2 separate regions of the Homo sapiens genome follow, and region 2 is linked to region 1. The links are contacts of gene promoters, found by promoter capture Hi-C in blood cells and fetal thymus (Javierre and others, 2016). All regions are on one chromosome and are shown on one strand. Each heading gives the region's core, a stretch centred on a gene start or on the middle of the fragment in contact. The rest is flanking DNA. Distances are from core to core; before and after follow the strand shown.

Region 1 (5,918 bases), core at 434-2,933:
TGAAGGCCAAGAAGTCTAAGGTCAAGGGGCCACATCTAATGAGACCCTTCTTGCTGGTGGGGACTTGCTAGAGTTCAGAAGCAGCACAGGGTATCACATGGCAAGGGAGTGACCTTCCTAACATGCTAGCTCAGGTCTCTTCCTCTTCTAATAAAGCCACATGTTCTCTCCCATGACAACCCATTAATCCATGAATAGATCAAGGGTTTTGCCCTCATGATCCAATCACCTATTTAAGGCCCACCTCTAAATACTGCCACATTAAAGATGAAGTTTCAACATGAGTTGTTTGTTTTTTTTTTTTTTTTTGAGACGGAATTTCCCTCTTGTTGCCCAGGCTGGAGTGCAGTGGTGCAATCTTGGCTCACCGTAACCTTCGCCTTCCAGCTTCAAGTGATTCTCGTGCCTCAGCCTCCCGAGTAGCTGAGATTACAGGCACGTGCCACCACACCCAGCTAATTTTTGTATTTTTAGTTGAGACGGGGTTTCTCCATGTTGGTCAGGCTGGTCTCGAACTCCCGACCTCAGGTGATCCGTCCACCTCGGCCTCCCAAAGTGCTGGGATTACAGACGTGAGCCACGGCGCCAGCCCTCAACATGAGTTTTGGAGAAGACAATTATTTCAAACCACAGTACCAGGAAAAGTGCAAAAAAAAAAAACCAAGGCAGAACAATTATGTGGTGTTGCTTGTGAGAGGTAAAATTTTATTTTATTAATATTTGCTTGTATTTGCAGAAATTCTATAAGAATACATGAGTATTGAATGTTATACAAACGCAGGCGACCATATAATCTTCCATTGAAATGGAACGGTTTCTAGAATGAAAGGGAGGATGTTATTATTATTATTATTATTTTTTGAGACCGAGTCTCGCTGTGTCTCCCAGGCTGGAGTGCAGTGGCGCGATCTCGGCTCACTGCAAACTCCGCCTCCCGGGTTCACGCCATTCTCCTGCCTCAGCCTCCCGAGTTGCTGGGACTACAGGGGTGCACCACCTACGCCCGGCTAATTTTTTTGTATTTTTAGTAGAGAACGGGGTTTCACCGTGTTAGCCAGGATGGCCTCGATCTCTTGACCTCGTGATCCGCCCGCCTCGGCTGCCCAAAGTGCTGGGATTACAGGCGTGAGCCACCGCGCCCGGCCGAAAGGGGGGATATTAATCATTACTCCAGGACGACAGAGGGAAAATCGCTTTGTACTGGACAAACTGGAATGTCTGACCAACCATTATAAAGTGCACGGAGTGGGAGGAGGAATAGGGACATTTTAATTGTATTTCTAAAAAGTATCTTCTGTGGTGAATCGGAAACAAAACTCATTCTTTACCACAGGCAGTTTAAGCGCTGCCTGAAAGATCGAAGGACGGTAAACCACAGACGTGAGAAACGGAACTTTGCGAAAACGCAGTCGTTTTATGTACCGGCTACTCATTGGAGTTACACCAGAGACTCACTACTGGAGTTCATCAGCCAATCCAAAGTCCAAGCGTGAGAGCCAGAGCCTGTAGGAGAGACCTGGGCAGGCCTCAGACCTGAGGAGTGGAGCTCCGCATCACTCAACCCTGGGGGCGGAGCTAGCCCAGGCTCCCACACCCGACGCTCTGGCCCACACAGACGCTACTCTGTAGCATCTCAGGTTCCCTCTGGCTGCACTCTGGAGGACCACACTCGTTTTCTTTTTGGCTGCCAGAGGCCCCCGCATCCACCGCTGAGCTGGGAGAAAGATGGCGGCAGCCGTGCGACAGGATTTGGCCCAGCTCATGAATTCGAGCGGCTCTCATAAAGATCTGGCTGGCAAGTGAGTATTTCCCAGGAACGCGGGAGTACAGAGGTGGGGAAAGAAAGCCACAGCCTTAATCTCCTTAGGTTGGCCACGGCTCTTGGGCGTGAAGCTAGGAGCCGGCCTGACGTCCAAGGGGGCGGGCCTGAGGTCGGCTGGGGAGGCAAATGTTGGGAGAAGCAGAAAGCTGGAGGGGACCTTGTGCAGGGGCCTTCGAGGCTATAGACTTGAAATGATTGTCAGCTTGTTCAGTTCTTGATAGAATCTTTCTGGTCCCTTAGGATTTTGGAACAGCGGTCTGAGAGACGACTGCTACCCTGGCCTTAGTAGCCTTCCCTGGTACCTCTTCCCATCGCTGGCCGGCCTCACACCGAATCTGGCCTCTCTTTGGACCTTCCTCCTCTTTTTTTTTGATTCAGAGAAATGTATATTCTGGGGCCTTGATGCTGCGTTTTTCGGGGAGATGGCTTCTTGGGGCTGGCTGAGGTTGAGGCGGTATGGCCGCTGTCATGTCGTCCAGACCATTCAGACTGTCTTCTGTGGGTCCTTGTGTTTCGGGTATTTTCTCTGCCACCAACTCTGATGGCACATAGGCGGAATGTGCTCATATCGTGGGTCAGGATGTCTACAGTAGTGATGTTTGCAGGAATCTGAATTTTGTCGAAATTTATATAGAATGCTTAGGTTCACTCCAAGTTAAAATGTGTGACGTGCCTGTTCTGCAAGCAGTTGTCAACAGTATTAAGCATAGGTAGGTAGACGTATATTGTTCATTTTCTCTTTGTAGATGTCACAGCATTTCTCTTTTGTAATGAACATGCTTTCTGTTTAAAGTATGCCTCTCTAGGCCGGGTGCAGTGGCTCACGCCTGTAATCCCAGCACTTTGAGAGGCTGAGATCACTTGAGGCCTGAGAGATCTGAGAGGGAGGATCACTTGAGGGCAGGAGTTCTAGACCAGCCTGGGCAACATAGTGAGACCCCCCCCCCCGCCGCCACCCGTCTCCGTAAATAAATAAGTAAATAAAGTATGCCTCTCAAGTTGATCTTAATGTTTACATCCTGACAGCTGAAATCACTTTGATGTATATTAATGGGATACACCTGTTCTAACCTGGTCATTGAAATTCTGACTGTTTTAAGTAGGCTAGGCTGCCTTTTCTCTGGTGGCAAACGTAATCTACTTTTATCAGTGGGAAATTCAGCCGTATATTTTGGGCTTAACTACTTTGTGCTGCATTTTCCCACTCAGGAAAATGAAGATAATAATAGGACTTATTCTTGTCTGACATTATCTGAGGACAAGATGAGTATGTGTGTGCATATATACTTACCACACTTATATCACGTAGAACAGTACCTGACATATAGAAAGTGCGGTAAGATTGTTGTTGTTACTATTAAGCTGTCAGTAAATATATATTCACTTATTGTATGGGTTGGAAATAAGTTAAATATGTCTTCATGGCTCAATCCTTTCTGCTTGTAATTTTTATATGGATGAAAGTAAAATCAGCTTATATTTTTCCCCATGCTTCCTTTACTTTTTATTTTGTTAAAGAAGAATAAGTGCATTAGTTATCAAAAGAAATAGAGCTTTGCAAGTATTTGCAGAATTCTGAAACTTAAGTATTTACTTCTTCAGGTCTGAATTGGAGATAAACAATAGTACTTAAAGCGTGCTTCAGTTATCTGTTGCTTTGTAACAAACCAAAAACTTAACCAGTGTAAAACAACTATGATTTCTCAGGATTCTATGGGTTGACTGGACTGCTTTGCTGGTCTTGTCTGGGCTCACTCATGCAGATATAGTCAGCTGGCAACACACCTGGGGCGGGACTCACATGCATATCTTGCTCTTGCCTGGATCTCTCTCTCTCTCTGCACAGTCTCTCATTCAGTAGTTTAGCTTGGGCTTTCTTAGGTGCCTATGAGAGGGGAAGTCGCAAGACCTCTTAAGGATAGCCTAGGAAGTCTCACGTCAGTTCTCTAGTACTGGTCAAAGTAAATCAGAAGACCAGCCCAGATTCAAGGGGAGGGGAAATGGAGCTTACTACTACCTCTTTAGTGGCAAAGTTACATTGCAAAGGAGCCTGGACAGAGGGAGACACGATTCATTGGAAGCCGTTACTGTAGCAGTCTACCACATGGTGTTATTGTGAAGATTAAATGAAATAATGTGCTTGATAACTGATAGCCAGTGCAGTCTTAGCCATAACTCCTTCAGAGCTGCTTTCTGAGAAAAGTCTTGGCCTTGCCTGCATTTCCTATGTGGGCAAGAATGTAGCAGGATATTTATCCTTACAACAACATCAGTTCTACCAGCTATATGCTTTAAGAGAAATACCCTTGAAATATATCAGTGTGTTTTTTTTTAATGTATTTTTTCTTGTATGTACTTTTAATGAAGGTTTTTGGGTGTTTTTTTTAGGAGCTGAGTAACAAAGGATTCCATATTAAAGAATAATGGAATACATTGTTTCTAAAACATCAATACTGTGTGTTCCTAGCAATTGGGATATCTGTAACAGTAGTTGTTCAATAAACGTGGTTGAATTAATGAATAGCTAGAAAGGGGCAGTGCTTGTATTTGAATCCAGGTTCATCTACTCTAAAAAGCTCATTTTAAACCTACCAGACTATGCTCGTTTTCTTGTTAAAAACTCAGTTAGAAATGCTTTCCCATAACTGTGAATTAACACAGCTGTCTAAAGTTTATATAAGAAATTAGCCAGAGGAAAAGCATTTCCTCCATTTTATAGGCTGCTTTTGTGCATATTATGCATTGTATTTATTATCTCACATAAAGCTTTAGAATAGGAGAGCCACAACGGAGGATAGACTTTATTGAGGATAGCCTCAAAGGCCCCTTCTAACTCAGATTCTGATTCTCTCTTTGTTGTCCCAAACACAACAGTTTTAGTGGTTTTCATCTCTAGAGTGAAAGTCAATAACATCTAGAGTTTACTGTGCGAAGCACAACATTACTTACATTTAAAAATCCTTAACAAGTAGGAGTAGGTGATAGTAGTGATATTATTTACATTATAATAAGAGAAAACCAAAGTACAGAGTTGAAATACCTTGCTCTGAGGTCACACAGCTAGTGGTGAAGCTAGAAGACAGTCCATATCTGCTTGCCTATGAGCCCTTAACTCTAAACAAACACATCTACCTTTTTGGCCTTATTTTCACAAAAAAAAATTGACTACACTTCAGATAGTGATTATTTTTGCCTAGAATGCCTGTCTTCCTACTGTTATTAAATTGAAATACTTAGAATGTTTAAAGATCAACCCCATCCAATGATTTCTCTCTCCTAAAAATTATATTAGCACTTACCTGTTTTTTTTGTTTGTTTGTTTGTTTTGTTTTGTTTTGAGATGGAGTTTCACTCTTGTTGCCTAGGCTGGAGTGCAGTGGCGCGATCTCGGCTCACTGCAACCTCTGCCTCCCGGGTTCAACCGATTCTTCTGCCTCAGCCTCCCAAGTAGCTGGGACTACAGGTGCATGCCACCACACCCGACTACTTTTTTTTGTATTTTTAGTAGAGACAGGGTTTCACCATGTTGGCCAGGATGGTCTCGATCTTTTGACCTTGTGATCCACCTGCCTTGGCCTCCCAAAGTGCTGGGATTACAGGCGTGAGCCACCGCGCCTGGCCAGCACTTACCTGTTTTTAAGATTTTGTCTTTAATTTTGTGTAGCTTCATTATGATATGTCTGTGGATTTGTTTTTACTTTTCTATGTCAGTTACCCTTTGCTGTGAAATAAACCCCAAAACTTAGGGCTTAAAACAACAGTCACTTATTTAGCTTATAATTCTGTAGGTTGGTAGTTTGGATTGGGCCCAGCTGTATGGTTCTTTTCTGCTCCACGTGGTCTTGGTTCCACATGGGCTCCCATGTGGGTCTATAGTTAGCTGCCAGCCAGGCCAGGTAGGCAGCTCTGCTTCTGTGGATTGGCTGGCTTGTTGGCTGGGGCAATATAGTTGACTGGGCTACATATCTCATTAGCCAGTATGTTAGTCTGAGCCTGTTCATGTGACAGCAGCAGGGTTCCAAAAGACAAACACATACAAGGCCTCTCGAGGTCTGGGCTCAGAACTAGCACTTCATTTCTACCACGTTTTATTGGT
Region 2 (4,812 bases), core at 80-2,579, 610 kb before region 1:
ACTATGCTAGATTAAGGTCTACTAGAAGCATCTCTAGTAACCCAAGTAAAATGCTATCACAAACACCAATTTCTAATAAGTTTATTACAAGAACATAAATTGATCTGTGCATATGATCTTTAATTTATATCCCAGATTTAAAAGTTCTTGTTTTGGTTTGTAGATTTCACTATTAGCTATAAAAAGAAAAAGCAAGCATTAAATCTTAAAAGAATGAACACTTAAAATGAGGCTCCACAATTGAAATACAACACTAAACAGAAGACCAAAATGATTAAGCTGTAAAAAGGCATTTATGTACTTTAACTCCTGTAAAAAACCATTTAAGTTAAGTTTAGACACTTAATCTCCAAAAAGATTAAAAATGAAGCCAAAGTCTGAAGTTTTCCACTTTAATCTTTACGCTGGTACATGAAGTTGGAAGAGACCATACCACAGGACAGCGTTTTCTGGTGTATGCCTTGCGCTCTGCCCGCAACGTGCGACCCCCAGAGATAGACGTGGTCAGGGTGACACACGGCCTGCAATGAAGTTCCCGCTGGCGGGTACAAACAAGGTATAATGTCAGAGTTAGAAGACAACATTCTTGTTTTCCTTAAGTTGTACCCATTTCAGTACTTTACCTGTTAATAGTTCTAAAATGTTTAATTATTCCTCTAGACCACCTGGTACACAAAAGCAAACAGAAAAACTCTTAAGTTTTTCTGCAATACTAAAGAAAGTGAGATAAGACTTTAAAGTTAAAGATCTATAGACACTTTAGGCAAAACAGGCTCATAAAGCAATTAAAAAATCAACAATTTAGTAAAAACAGGCTACATAGTATTTTGTTTTTACGTTTCATTTGTCTATTGATCTTTAAATTAAATTAGACATTTCTACTGTTTTCCTGTACTCTTATACACACCTGTTTTCTCCAATGTTCTCCTTTAGTATGGCTGGTAATTGTTTTGGTGATTGCCACCCCCTCGAGATGCCTTGCCATAAGTGCTCTGTTGGCCTATTTTGAAAACACAGAATTCTCATTAAGATAGTTTTCTACAAAACTTTCTTTACAAACACAAACTATTAAATCTACAAATCTTTGCATGCTAAATAAAAAGTATTAAGATATTTTAGCACCCATTAGATGCTACTCATAAATCATACATCCTAGTTCATTTATAACCACCAGTCTATGTTAGTATAATCATCCTATGATTGTAACATGCCTCAAACACTTAACTCCGAACACTTTAATGGAAAGCCCATACACACAATTTCAGAACAGGATTGTATGTTAACAATGAATTTTAATACCACTGCTTTATAAAATTAAGTTAAATATTCTTACCACTGTAGTCTGCATATCCCTGTCCATATCCATAGTTCCCATAGTTATACCCAGTATAATCATATCCGCCATAGCCACTATAGTTTTGATCACCACCATAGGCACTATTGTAATTTCCATATCCTTGATCATAATAGTTATTAAATCCTTGGTTCCAGTTTTGGCCCTGACCTGAAACAATGCACAATGATTGTTAGGAAACAACTTCTGACCCCCAATTCTAACATAAAATGATGCGTTCTTGTCTCTCACTCTGCAAATCTTAAAGGGCAGAATGGACATATATATTGCTATCTGCTTGAAAAACTATTTTTCCAGCTGTTATAAAAAAGGAGGCAGAAAGTCCAATTGTGCCAGTATCAAACTTCCTAAACTTAATGGAAAATCATTCAATTTTCCATTAAAGCCGAAGACAGGTACACTGTTCTGTTTAAAACAAGGACTCCTGCCCAAGAAAACCTATCACACCACGGTGTATCATGTAATGGTACACTTTTCCTATCAGTGATGACACTAATTGTCAAAGTGGCCACACTTTTAACAGTTTTTTGAAACCAGTGAGCTCACAACAAAAAACCACCACACACAACCTCCACTAAGCTGAACAGTCCCCCCTCCGCTGGAATGGTTTTAAGTTTAAAGTTTTGCTTTGGTACAGGACTACTCATATTCAGCAGTATACAGCTTAAATAAACCACGGAGTCATATTTCAAGAATTAAGTCTCACCTCGGCCACGACCCCTCGTACCACCTCGTCCACCAGCTGCAGCACCTCTTCCACCTTTTTGTTGTTGCTGTTGCTGCCTATATACCTCTTTGGGTTGTGCAACTTTGATTTCACACTATAAACAAAAAACATGAAAGTATAATTTTTACCGAAGTTCTAAAATTAAATCATTTTATTTTTCTCCACATCAAGAAATTATTTCAATTATTTAAATTTTCATTTAAAGTGCTTAAATGGCTTTACCTTCCCAGAACCAATTTGATGGTATCTGCTTTCTAACAATTTTTTTACTGGCTCTTCATCAGTATATGTGATAAAACAAAATCCTCTTCTTTCATTTGTTTTTGTATCCATGGGAAGTTCAATATTTTCAATCTGAAATCGAGATGCACACTCAACGTCATCCCATAATTGTAAAACGTTACAGTGTCAGAATGCCAAAGGCCTTTTCAGGCTTCAACTTAAACATGTTATTCTTATCGGGTGACTTCTATACAGACATCACTGCTTTATGATCAACATCAGCCTACAGTGATTTGTTGTATATTTGAAGCATTGAGAGAAATTAATATTATTTTGTACCCAAAGATGCCACTAGTTAACAAGTCCAAACACTGACCACATTTAAGTGCCCATGTTTTAGCTAAATTAGATAGTTGGGTTTCCATCAGAGCAGCAATGAAATCAAGGTACAGTCACTGGAAGCGACTTGAGCAGTCATTTAATTCTACTCTTACAGGAAACATGAATCTGCCCTGCATAAATCGGACAAGGATTGAACATTTTATAAACACATCAAGCTTAACATGTGTAAACATAATCACACACCTCTCCAAAGGCTCCAAAATATTCTTTAATTTGTTCTTCAGAAGTATCCGGGCTCAATCCACCCACAAAAACCTTTTTGGGAGGTTCTTTCCCTTTTAAAGCTTTGGCCCTTTTGGGATCTATCAATTTGCCATCCAGTTTGTGTTCTTTCAGTTCCAAAACCTACAAGACAGATTTATTTAATCTGACAGCACCATATAACCCCCAGAAAAATTTGCAAAACACCACAAAAGCAGCACAATGCAAAACATAGTTCCTACCTTATCAACACTAGCAGCATCTTTGAAAAGCACAAATCCAAATCCTCTTGATCTCCCAGTGACTGGATCTGTTTTAATTGTGCAGTCTACAACTTCCCCAAATCGAGACAAGTACTCTGTCAGATCTTTTTTGCTTGTATCCCAGCTCAAGCCTCCAATAAACATTTTACTAGAAATAAAAGTGTTTTTAAAAAAAATTAACAATAACTCAAATGATCCTTCAGTTCTGGAATTAAATCGTGAAATAAAAACAGGGACATTTACCCCCTAAGTGTAGGCAATTTAATTCATGTTTACATTTAATCTATGTCACACAAAAATCCCAATATCCCAACGAAGTTACTCAAACCAGCGGACAGCTCACTGTCCGCACTACATAAAGCAAAGCTCAAAAGAGACCAATAAAATACAGTAAAGGTTCTGCCCAGATTCCTTTAGGTAGAAGGCACAACTTCCTAGATGAATCCCTCACATCTTATCTTACTTAGGTCCATCTTCGTTCTCAGCTGTCAAGCCAACGTTCCACCCAGAGAACTCATCAATCATAACACGTTTTGTGAATCTGGGTACCAGTCGCCTGCTTGTGCCCCAACTCAGTCCTCTAAAACTCTTCCCAGGAAAACCGCGCCGAGTGGTAACAGAGACACAATGAAGAGGCGGCGGCAGCTGCAGCGTGCAGCGCTGGGAGGCCGGCCCCTCCCCCCCGGGTCCCACGCGGCGCCTGCGCGCTCGGGACACAGACGCCGCCGCCCTCCTCCTCCAACCCCTCCGCCCTTCCCCCACTCTTCCCGGGTCTCTCCAGTCACCCCCTCGATCTCTTACTTTCCTCTTCCCTCCAATCTAGTGGGGCCCAGAAGGCACGCGGGGAATCGACTCTGAGAAAGAATGGGGGCAGCGCGCGGCTCACGAGGAACGAAGGGCGCGTGCGGCGCGCTGGGGGAGGGGGAGCGGGGGAAGAAGCGTGCGGTACCCGTCATCCTGCTGATTCTTGCTCGCGTTGATCTTGGATCCCTCTGCGAATTCCTCTATATTGCTGTACTCGTTCATATCCTCCATAGTGACGGAGCTGTCGGCAGGGGGGTGCTGGCGCGCAGTCCGGGTCGCGGCAGCAGCGGCGGCGGAGCGTTGTATGGAGCTGGATTTAAAATGGCGGCGGAAGAGATCCGGGCGCCGCCTGCGCCCTCCCTTTATAGCCGCCCCGCCCGCCAATCGGGAGGGCTGCTGGGCGGTGACGTGGCGCTGGGCCCGGCGCGCCCCCTGCCGGGCGGAGCTGGGAGCGAGCGAAGGGAGGAGCGGGGCTAGCTGCCGCGGCGGCCGCGGCCGCCAATGGGAGAGGCTGCGGGAGGCTAAAGTAGCGGGAGCGGAGGGGAACAATGGCGGCGGCACATGGGAAAGCCTGGGCGGGACCTCCATCGCGGCCCTCCCGGCAAGGAGAGAGGCCACGCGTGAGGGGACGCGGGCTTGGGAGAAGAGAAGAATCAGAAGAGAAAAACGAAGGGGCGTAAATTCCTGGGGTCAGCAGTCCCGAGCAGAGCCGACGCAGGGCCACAGTCCCTCTTGCCTTGGGAGCCTTTGTCTCTGGCGTCCGGTCCAGCCCACTCCTACCAAAAAGCCGTCAACCCCGCCTTTTTCTGCCCTCGGTTCGCCAGTGCGGAGCCGCTGCG

Evidence for each region. Contacts are between HindIII fragments. The CHiCAGO score rates a contact against its expected background, and 5 or more counts as called.
Region 2: a fragment that was not itself captured here is called in contact with the fragment with the promoter of COPS4 in region 1 in 1 of 17 cell types (total CD8 T cells); the score reaches 5.2 in total CD8 T cells.

The regions. Positions count from the first base shown.
Region 1 is chr4:83,033,500-83,039,417 of GRCh38, forward strand. It overlaps COPS4 (COP9 signalosome subunit 4), which reads left to right and starts at 1,684. Exons shown (of 10, transcript NM_016129.3): 1 at 1,684-1,799. The coding sequence starts at 1,726. RefSeq lists enhancers at 1,204-1,323, 1,397-1,691, 1,454-1,803, 1,904-1,953, 1,994-2,053 and 2 more. The HindIII fragment of the contact is 6,632 bases long and covers 1-4,586 here.
Region 2 is chr4:82,425,130-82,429,941 of GRCh38, forward strand. HNRNPDL (heterogeneous nuclear ribonucleoprotein D like) reads right to left here. Exons shown (of 8, transcript NM_031372.4): 1 at 4,119-4,812; 2 at 3,149-3,317; 3 at 2,889-3,050; 4 at 2,304-2,435; 5 at 2,061-2,175; 6 at 1,334-1,504; 7 at 908-1,000. The coding sequence starts at 4,561. The coding sequence ends at 930. Among named protein-coding and RNA genes, the nearest start is that of HNRNPDL, 2.9 kb to the right of the region's middle. RefSeq lists silencers at 3,782-3,951, 4,262-4,501 and enhancers at 3,997-4,792, 4,172-4,231, 4,552-4,641, 4,793-4,812. The HindIII fragment of the contact is 3,058 bases long and covers 1-2,858 here.